2 separate regions of the Homo sapiens genome follow, and region 2 is linked to region 1. The links are contacts of gene promoters, found by promoter capture Hi-C in blood cells and fetal thymus (Javierre and others, 2016). All regions are on one chromosome and are shown on one strand. The core of a region is centred on a gene start or on the middle of the fragment in contact, and the rest is flanking DNA. Distances in the headings are between cores, read along the strand shown.

The links. The method cuts DNA at HindIII sites, captures the fragments that hold promoters and counts their contacts. A CHiCAGO score of 5 or more calls a contact.
Region 2: a fragment that was not itself captured here is called in contact with the fragment with the promoter of CLEC6A in region 1 in 3 of 17 cell types (M1 macrophages, M0 macrophages and monocytes); the score reaches 7.8 in M1 macrophages.

The regions. Positions count from the first base shown.
Region 1 is chr12:8,453,726-8,458,693 of GRCh38, reverse strand. It overlaps CLEC6A (C-type lectin domain containing 6A), which reads right to left and starts at 2,732. Exons shown (of 6, transcript NM_001007033.2): 1 at 2,552-2,732; 2 at 707-796. The coding sequence starts at 2,582. The HindIII fragment of the contact is 4,980 bases long and covers 2,151-4,968 here.
Region 2 is chr12:8,615,886-8,620,853 of GRCh38, reverse strand. No RefSeq gene overlaps it. Among named protein-coding and RNA genes, the nearest start is that of AICDA, 5.5 kb to the right of the region's middle. The HindIII fragment of the contact is 193 bases long and covers 2,328-2,520 here.

The DNA of each region.
Region 1 (4,968 bases), core at 1,483-3,982:
ATTATTTGTATTTTACTAAATATTGTGAGATTTATTTAAATCTCTGAGGGAACTATAGCTACAACCTGATTGACAGGGGAAGTCACTTTCACTCCCTCCCAGACTATTCAATACCCATTTTTAATCACCTTATCAATGAATAGAAATCCAAATTGTGAATCGGAGAGGAAAAAGGTCTTTAAGACTTCTCACACAATGAACTTGAGACATGTATTTGGAGGCAAGCAGAACAGGGAAGAAATATTTTATCCTCTTTATCTCCATCATTTCATTTGAATACTTTTTCCTCTCACATTGGAAAGGATCTGCACATGAATCAAAGAATCTAATATAGAATATGACAATTATGACAGCAATTAGAGTTGCACTCCCAATACAAGAGTTTTGTCACCAGGGAACACACAATTACTAGTGAATCCAGTCCTGAAAGATGGTGTCTTAGATGATGGCTACAATGGACAACATGGATATGTGAGGCCATGATTCAGAAAATGCTAATAAAACCAGGTAAAGTACATCTACAAGAATTCAGTTTTCAAAAGATAGAGGGAGAAAAACAAAGGGAAAAGGAGAAATCAAGGAAAGTGTGGCATTCCAAGTAAGAGCTGACGTATTAATGGGGCAAAGGAGAATATATCCTAGGAAACCTGTATGGAATATTCAAGGGAAAGGAAGCAAGGAAAATGCACCTCAGTGAAGAACTTACCTACACAGCTCACAATGAAGCAAGCACTGAGGAGTGCAATGGAAATCCCAGCCACAGACCAGAGTCTCAGGGACAACCAGCCTCTTTTCTCTGTCCAATCAGGAAGACAACAAATGCAGTTACCAGGGGGCCAGGGAGCCAAAATCCCCAGGAAGCTTACAACAATGAACAAACTAGATGAAGAACCTCAGAGCAGTTAAAAACTTAAAGCAAGAAGACAGCTTACAAACTCCCTCAGAATAAATAACCAGGTAGTAGCTCTGTGGTCCAAAAGAATACAGGTAAAACATACACTCAACCAACTGGAATTTCCATGTCTTTATTCTTTCTTCTAAACTATTACATGTTTCCATTGATTTCGTTTCTCAAAACATCACTTTTGTCTCCCATTTCTCATATCTCTGTATTGATATTTGGTTTCTTCAGTATATCCAAGAGATATCTGCACTCCCATGTTTATTGTAGCACTATTCACAGTAGCCAAGATATGAAAGCAACCTAAGTGTCCATCAACAGATGAATGGATAAAGAAAATGTAGTATAATATATACAATGGCATATTATTCCACCATAAAAAAGAATAAAATCCTGCCATTTGCAACAGCACAGATGGAACCAGAGGACATCGTGTTAAGTGAAATGAGCCAGGCACAGAAAGACAAACATTGCATATTCTGACTCATATGTGGGAGTTAAAAAAATTGATCTCATGGAGGTAGTGAATAGAATGGTGGTTACCAGAGGCCAGGAAGGTTAACTGGGAAGAGAAGATAGAGAAGGGTTGTTTCGTACCTACAAAAATACAATTAGCTAGAAGAAATAAAATCTAGTGTCCCTTAGCACAGCAGGATAACTGTAGTTAACTTTTTTTTTTTTTTGACATGGAGTCTCACTCTGTCACCCAGGCTGAAGCACAATGAGGCAATCTTGGCACCCTGCAACCTCCACCTCCTGGGTTCAAGTGATTCTCCTGCCTCAGCCTCCTGAGTGGCTAGGATTACAGGTGCATGCCACCATGCCCAGCTAAGTTTTGTCTTTTTATTAGAGACGGGATTTCACCATGTTGGCCAGGCTGGTCTCTAACTCCTGACCTCAAGTGATCCACCCACCTCAGCCTCCCAAAGTGCTGAGATTACAGGTGTGAGCCACTGAGCCTAACCCAACAATAATTTATTGCATATGTCAAAATAGCTAGAAGAGTAGATTTGGAATGTTCCAAACACAAAGACATGATAAATATTTGAGGTGATGGATAATGTAATTTTCCAGACTTTACCATTACGCATCATATTCTTGTGTCAAAATATGACATGGAGCCCATAAACATGCACAACTATTTTGTATCCATAAAAAATTTTAATAAAAATTTTTTTAAAACATTATTGATGGACATGCAAAGGGTTGAAGCTAAAGTCAAATTTTCATGCATTAAAAATGGGAAGCTTTTCTCTTACAAAAAAATTAGAAAAGCAAGTACAAAAAAACTTAGGGTAATTGGAAAGAGTACTGCTTCCTGGATTTCAAAATTAGTCAAAAGACTTTGAAGAGCAGACATCCAATAATCAGTTATTTCCCTGTTTACCTTCTATCATGTAAATCTTTTCTGTCTCCCTAAACTATCAATAAAATCTGGTACAAACCTCCCAAAAAATATTTGCTTTCTTATTCTTTCAAGTGCTTATGGCTCTGGCTCTGAAGAATTACTCTTTCTTTCAAATTCCTTTGAGTCTACTATATTGGTCCAATCACTAGCTCTTCAATCTGTTCTTTGGCTACTTCTTCTCTCCAGGTGATCTCATTTCACCATACACTTCCACTTTCCTCTGAAACTGAGGAAATACTCACCTGTACTTTGAGGTTGCTGCTCTTGCATCATTATGCAGGCTCCCTGTGTTGAGAAGGTCCAGGAACCTTTTGTACCTCTCTCCCTAAAGATGTTGCCCAGAGACTCAGCTTCATTTAAAGAAGCTAGAGCTCAGGGACAAACTGCTACACACTCTTATAGGACTAAGAGACTTCCAACATTAAGTGTACCTCAAAAGAAGAAGTCACAATTACAACTAAAGTTTCCAGTGATTTCGATACGTGGGGTTAAAAAAAACAAAAGAGGAATTGAGAAACATTGAAAACCATTCATGAGAACTTTGACAAGAATACTTAGATCATTTCTTCAGTTTCTAACATAAAATTTCTCTGTCTGATTCCTATTCATTCTGGCATGCAAAATAGAAAATTTTTTATCTCCTAAAAGACATCTATTTAGAGAACTTGGTTAAATTAAGTGCTCCCTAACTAACCTTTACATTGGCTGCTTATTTTATGCAAGCCTTAATCCATGTGTTGAACAGTGTCCTAGGTAGTAAGCAAAAGTTTGATTGGATGGATATGGTTTAGATATGAAGGGTAACATAGTAAATAACAAAACCCATGAACATTGTTAAGGAATGTGACTGCAAAATGAAACATTCTGAAATCAGTCTGCAAAGGTGATGAAACATTCTTACTGCATCCAGACTAATATTGGGCAGATGTCAGTGATATTTTGTAATCTCCCTGATTAGGCAAAAGGGAGCCTGAAGTGATATAAAATCAGAAACAGGCTTCATGAATTTTATATTGTAGCACAGAAAATATATGATGTTTTCTTGTCCTCATAGATTCTTAGTAGAGACACTGTCCTGAAAACAAAAGGCAGAGAAACAAGAGAAAAAGCAGCAGTTTATCAATGTGTGTTATACCCATCACTCAGGAGAGAACTCAGTTCAAATGTATTTATCTCTTTCATGGCAGTGGCTTACAGGCCTTGCTTAAATAGTATGTTAACAAACAGCCATAAATCTATGGAGTGCTGAGAACGAAAAAAAAAAAAAACTGTTATTTGAGGAATGTGAGTGCCTTGAAACTATCAAGTCCAGAGTGGACTCATGAGAGAGATATGACAGGAGTCATGCCTCACTGCCACCTTGCACGAAATTTACCTCTTGAAGCCATTTGCTATGTAGGTTCTAGACTAACTGAACCCTAAAATTTAACAGTATACAGCTAATTACTAATCAATGTGGTTTCTGTAAACCAATGATAATTTACTGATGAGTAACTTTTTAATTCACTCCCTCTCCTGATTCATTCTTTTTTTAATTTTTATTTTTCCATAAGTTATTGAGGTACAGGTGGTATTTGGTTACATGAGTAAGGTTTTTAGTGGTGATTTGTGAGATTTTTGTGCACCCATCACCCAAGCAGCATACCCTGCACCATATTTGTAATATTTTATCCCTCATCCCCCTCCCACTCTTCCCCCCAAGTCCCCAAAGTCCATTGTACCATTCTTATACATTTTGTGTCATCGTAGCTTAGCTCCCCATATCATTGAGAACATATGATGTTTGGTTTTCCATTCCTGAGTTACTTCACTTAGGATAATAGTCTCCAATCTCATCCAGGTCAGTGCAAGTGCTATTAATACATTGCTTCTTATGACTGAGTAGTGGTCCATTGTATATCTATACCACAGTTTCTTTATCCACTCATTGATTGATGAGCATTTGGGATGGTTCCATGATTTTTCAGATTCATTCTTTTTTCTTTAAAATCTTCAGTCTTTCCTTTGCTCTCTAGACCACTTCCCAAGGCAACCTACAAGTGTTTTCCTGGGTAGCTGTCCTCATCCTTTGCCCAAATAAACTCTCTATATTAATGTGGCTTCAGCTACTTCCTTTAGGATGATAGTGAAAAGACAAAGAAGAGAGTATCTTCACGATTCCAAAAGGAAATGAAATACAGGAAGGTATTTTAACAGGAAGAGTAAAATCTGCTTCTAAATCCTTTTACAAGTATCGTAAAGGAGCTAATCCTTAGCTGGGAAAAGTAGAAAGGAAGACAGGAAGACCTTTGTCTTTGTAAATTGTTGTTCTGCCAACAGGCAAGAAGAAGGAGGGGAAGAATGTTCTCCTACATTGCCACCTTTTTCAGCTCAACAATTTGCAGTTATCTTAGAGAAGGTTATTTTGGTTTCCTCCAATCATTACCTAAGGGCTTTGAAATACTTAATCATTCACATGCAGTCTCTAAAATGTAGATCATTCTATTAACATCACAAACAGCTCCACATTCTCAAGTGAGCAATCTTGTATACAAGAAAATCTACTAGAATATTGAACTTGTGATATTATAAGAAACATGTATATTTCATTTTTGTTTATCACAGAGCTTCTGAAACCCTAAAACTTCCTGGTTGATAGAAATGATTTGGTTACAATGTT
Region 2 (4,968 bases), core at 1,175-3,674, 160 kb before region 1:
GTGTGTATGTGTTTGAGACAGAGTCTCTGTTGCCCGGCCTGGAGTGCAGTGGCATGATCTCAGCTCACTGCAACCTCCACCTCCCAGGTTCAGTGATTCTCCTGCCTCAGCCTCCCAAGTAGCTGGTATTACAGGCATGAGCCACCACACCTGACTAATTTTTGTATTTTTAGTAGAGACAGGGTTTCACCATGTTGGCCAAGCTGGTCTTGAACTCCTGACCTCAAGTGATCCACCCACCTCGGCCTCCCAAAGTGTTGGAAATACAGACGTGAGCCACCACACCCCACAAGTCAACTAATTTTCAACAGGGGTACCAAGAATACACAGTAGGGAAAGGATAGTCTCTTCAATAAATTGTGTTAGGAAAACTGGATATCCACATGCAAAAGAATGAAATTGGACCCTTATCTTACACCATACACAAAAATCAACTAAAATGGATTAAGGACTTAAATAAGGCCTGAAACCGTAAAACTACTAGAAGAAAATGGGAGTGGGAATGGGCAGCTTCTTGACGTTGGCCTTGGCAATGATGTTTTTGGCTATGACACCGAAAGAATAGGCAATAAAAGCATAAATAAAAAGTGGGACTAAATCAAACTGAAAAGCTTCTACACAGCAAAGAAAACAATCATCAACATGAAAAGGCAACCTATAGGTTAGAAGAAAATATTTGCTAATCATATATCTGATGAAGGGGTTAATGTCCGGCCAGGTGCAGTGGCTAATGCCATATAATCCCAGAACTTTGGGAAGCTGAGGCAGGAGGATCACTTGAGCCAAGGAGTTTAAGGTCAGCCTGGGCAACAAAGTGAGGCCTCTATTCCTACAAAAAAAGTATAAAAATCATCTGGGCATGGTGGCTTGTGTCTGTAGTCCCAGCTACTCGGGAGGCTGAGGCAGGAGGATTGTTTGAGCCTGGGAGGTCAAGGCTGCAGTGAGCTGTGATTGCATCACTGGACTCCAGCCTGGGTGACAGAGCGAGACCCTGTTTCAAAAAGGAAAAAAAGGTAGACAGGGGTTTAATATCCAAAATATATAAGGAATTCATACAACTTAGTACCAAAAAAAAATGTCAACCTAAAATAATCAAAAGGGTCAGAATCTAATTTAAATAAAGTTTATTCAAGGACAAAGTTTGAAGACAGTCCATTCAGAAACACCAACTCTAAGGAAATGGAGTCAGTGTTCTGAACTAGGGAAGTTAAAGTATCATTTATATAGGCAGAGACACAGGAGTTTATGCACACTTACAGCATTTTTCATACAAGGTTGGTGCATAGTTATAACAATTTGATTGATTATAGGCAGTGTTTCTTTTTGGGAAGGGTACATATAGCATCTTTTGCAGATGTTGTAATAGTCATATGTTTTCTGTCATCTGGTCTAGGCAAAGCAAGACGACAAAGGAGAAGTTAATCTATGATAAGGGTCATTAATTAACAAGGCAGGAGGTTTTTGTCCTTGAGGTCATTTAATTTTCTCTAGTTACTGTACAGGACAAGAAAAATAAGGAAGTGGGTTAGTCTATAACTTGAGAAGCAGATGTTGCAACCATATGTGACTCAGATCACAGTCACATCTCTCTCAAGGCTTACAGTGTTTCTGGGGTTCCAACAGCTTTTTAAAATTTTTTTGAGATGGAGTTTCACTCTTGTCGCCCAGGCTGGAGTATAATGGTGTGATCTCAGCATACTGCAACCTCCGCCTCCTGGGTTCAAGCAATTCTGCCGCAGCCTCTCGAGTAACTGGGATTACAGGTATGCGCCACCACACCCAGCTAATTTTTGTATGTTTAGTAGAGATGAGGTTTCACCATGTTGGCCAGGCTGGTCTCGAACTCCTGACCTCAAGTGATCTGCCCACCTCAGCCTCCCAAAGTGCTGAGATTATAGGCGTGAGCCACCGCGCCTGGTCCACGAACAGCTTTTAAATCATATTTATTCTCACATAAATAACCCAATTAAAAATGGACAGAGGACCTGAATAGACATTTCTCAAAAGAAGACATACAATTGTCCAACAAGTGTATGAAAATGTGCTTAACACGGTAATCATGAGGGAAATACAAATCAAAATCACAGTGAGATATCATCTCTGTGAAATAATAAGAATAATATATATTTGGTCTCTGCCCCTGGTTCCTGGCACAGATTTCCTAAAGCCCTGAGAATTTCCTGAGTGATAAGAGCATCTGACACAGAGCTTTCGAATAGCTTGGAATTTCTGGATGACAGGAGTTTGTTTTGTTCTAATGAGATGACTCCTGGTAGGCTCTAGGAGAGGTGCCAGTCCCCAGAAAGACCAAGTCATGACTAGAAGCTTGGAATTTTCAGCCCCACTCCCCATTCTCCCGAGAGACGAGAGGGGCTGGGAATAGAGTAAATAATTAATCGTGCCTACATGATCAAGTCTCCATAAAAATCCCTGAAGTATGGAGTTCAAAGAGCTTCTGAGTTGGTAAATATATCTGTGTAGCAGGAGGGTGGCACACCCCAACTCCAGGGGACAGAAGCTTCTGTGCTCAGACCCCTCCCGTTCTTACCCTCTGTACTTTCATCGAGCTGTTCATACGTAACTTTTTTTTTTTTTGAGACAGAATCTCGCTCTGTCACCCAGGCTGGAGTGCAGTGGTGCGATCTCAGCTACTGCAACCTCTGCCTCCTGAGTTCAAGCGATTCTCATGCTTCAGCATCCTGAGTAGCTGGGACTATAGGTGTGAGCCACCATGCCCAACTAATTTTTGTGTTTTTTTAGTAGAGATGGAAGTTTCATCATGCTGGCCAGACTGGTCTCAAACTCCTGGCCCGAAGTGATCTGCCCACCTTGGCCTTCCGGAGTGCTGGGATTACAGGCATGCACCACCACACCTGGCTTGTATGCTTTATTATATCCTTTATTAGCATAATAAACTGCTAAAAGTTAAGTAAGTGTTTCCCCGAGTTTGCTAAGCCAGCTTAGCAAATTAATGGAACCCAAGGCATGGGTTGTAGGAACCCCTAAGCCAGTTGATCAGAAGTACAGGTCACAACCTGAAATTTGAGATTGGCATCTGAAGTGGGGTCCATCTTGTGGGACTGACCCACAATCTGTGAGGTCTGATGCTATCTCCAGGTAGATAATGCCAGAATTGAATTAAATTATAGAACACCCAGTTGATGTCCACTGGAAAACTGCTTGGTGTATGGGAAAAGACCGGCACACATCTGGTGTCAGAAGGGCTGTGTTGAGTGGTATGTGAAGGTGGAAGAAAAAATAGTCAGTTCTTCCTATTATATGCTTTCTTTTTCTTTTTTTTTTTTTTTAAGACGGAGTCTCACTCTGTCTCCCAGGCTGGAGTGCAGTGGCACGATCTCTGCTCACTGCAACCTCCACCTCCCGGGTTCAAGCAATTCTCCTGCCTCAGCCTCCCGAGTAGCTGGGATTACAGTTGCCTGCCACCACAACTGGCTTATTTTTGTATTTTTTTTTTTCAGTAGAGACGGGGTTTCACCATGTTGGCCAGGCTGATCTCGAACTCCTGACCTCAGGTGATCTGCCTGCCTCGGCCTTCCAAAGTGCTGGGATTACAGATGTGAGCCACCACACCTGGCCCCTATTATTGGGTTTGCATTTTACATTTTTATTTTTTCCTATCTCTTAACCTCACACCTGTTAGAATGGCTATTACCATAAAGACAAAAGAAAACAAGCGTTGGTGAGAATGTGGAGCGAAAGGAACCTTTGTACACTGTTGGTGGGAATGTAAATTGGCACAGCCGTTATAGGGAACAGTATGGAGGTTTCTCCAAAAAAAAAAAACTAAAACTAGAACTACTATATGATCCTCAAAAATTTTAATACAGAACTACCATATTGAGCAATCCTGCTTCTGGGTAAATACCCAAAGAAAACAAAATCAGTGCCTTGAAGAGATAACTCCATGTCCACTGCTGCGCTATTCACAATAGCCAAGATATGGAGACAACCTACGTGTCTGTCGACAGATGAATGGATCAAGAAAATGTGGCACGTATATATATATCAGAATAAGAATATCATTCTGCCTTAAGAAAGGAGATCTTGCCATTTGCAACAACATTGATAAATCTGGAGGACATTATGCTTGGTGAAATAAGCCAGACACAGAAAGAAAAATACTGCATAATCTCACTTATATGTGGAATCTTAAAAAGTTGAACACATAGAAGCAGAAAGTAAAATGGTGAGCCAGCCACAGTGGCTCACGCCTGTAATCTCAGCACTTTGGGAGGCCGAGGTGGGTGGATCACTTGAGGCCAGGAGTTCGAGACCAGCCTGGCCAACATGGTGAAACCCCCGTCTCTACTAAAAATACAAAAATCAGCTGGGCGTGGTGGTGCATGCTTGGAATTCCAGCTAATTGGGAGGCTGAGGCAGGAGAATCCTTTGAACCCAGGAGGCGGAGGTTGCAGTGAGCCGAGATCACACCATTGCACTCCAGCCTGGGCAACAGAGTGAGACTCCGTCTCAAAAAAAAAAAAAAAATAAAATAAGAAAGAAAGAAAGTAAAATGGTGGTTAGCAGGCATGGGGAGGTAGGGAAAATGGGAAGATGTTGCTCAAATGGTACAAAGTTGCAGTTATACAGGATTAATAAGTCTAGAGCTCTATTGTACAGCATGATGACTACAGTTAAAAAAGATTGTATTGGGCCAGGCACAGTGGCTCACACCTGTAATCACAGCACTTTGGCTGAGATGGGAGCATTGTTTGAGCCCAGGAGTTCAAGACCTAACTGAGCAACATAGTGAGATCCTGCCTGTACAAAAAAACAAACAAAAAAATTAGCCCAGTGTGGTAGTGTGCAGCTGTGGTCCCAGCTACTCGGGAGGCTGAGGTGGGAGGATTGTTTGAGCCCGGGAGGTCAACGCTGCAGTGAGCCAAGATCATGCCACTGCACACCAGCCTAGGCAACAGAGTGAGACTCTTGTCTCGAAAAAAAAAA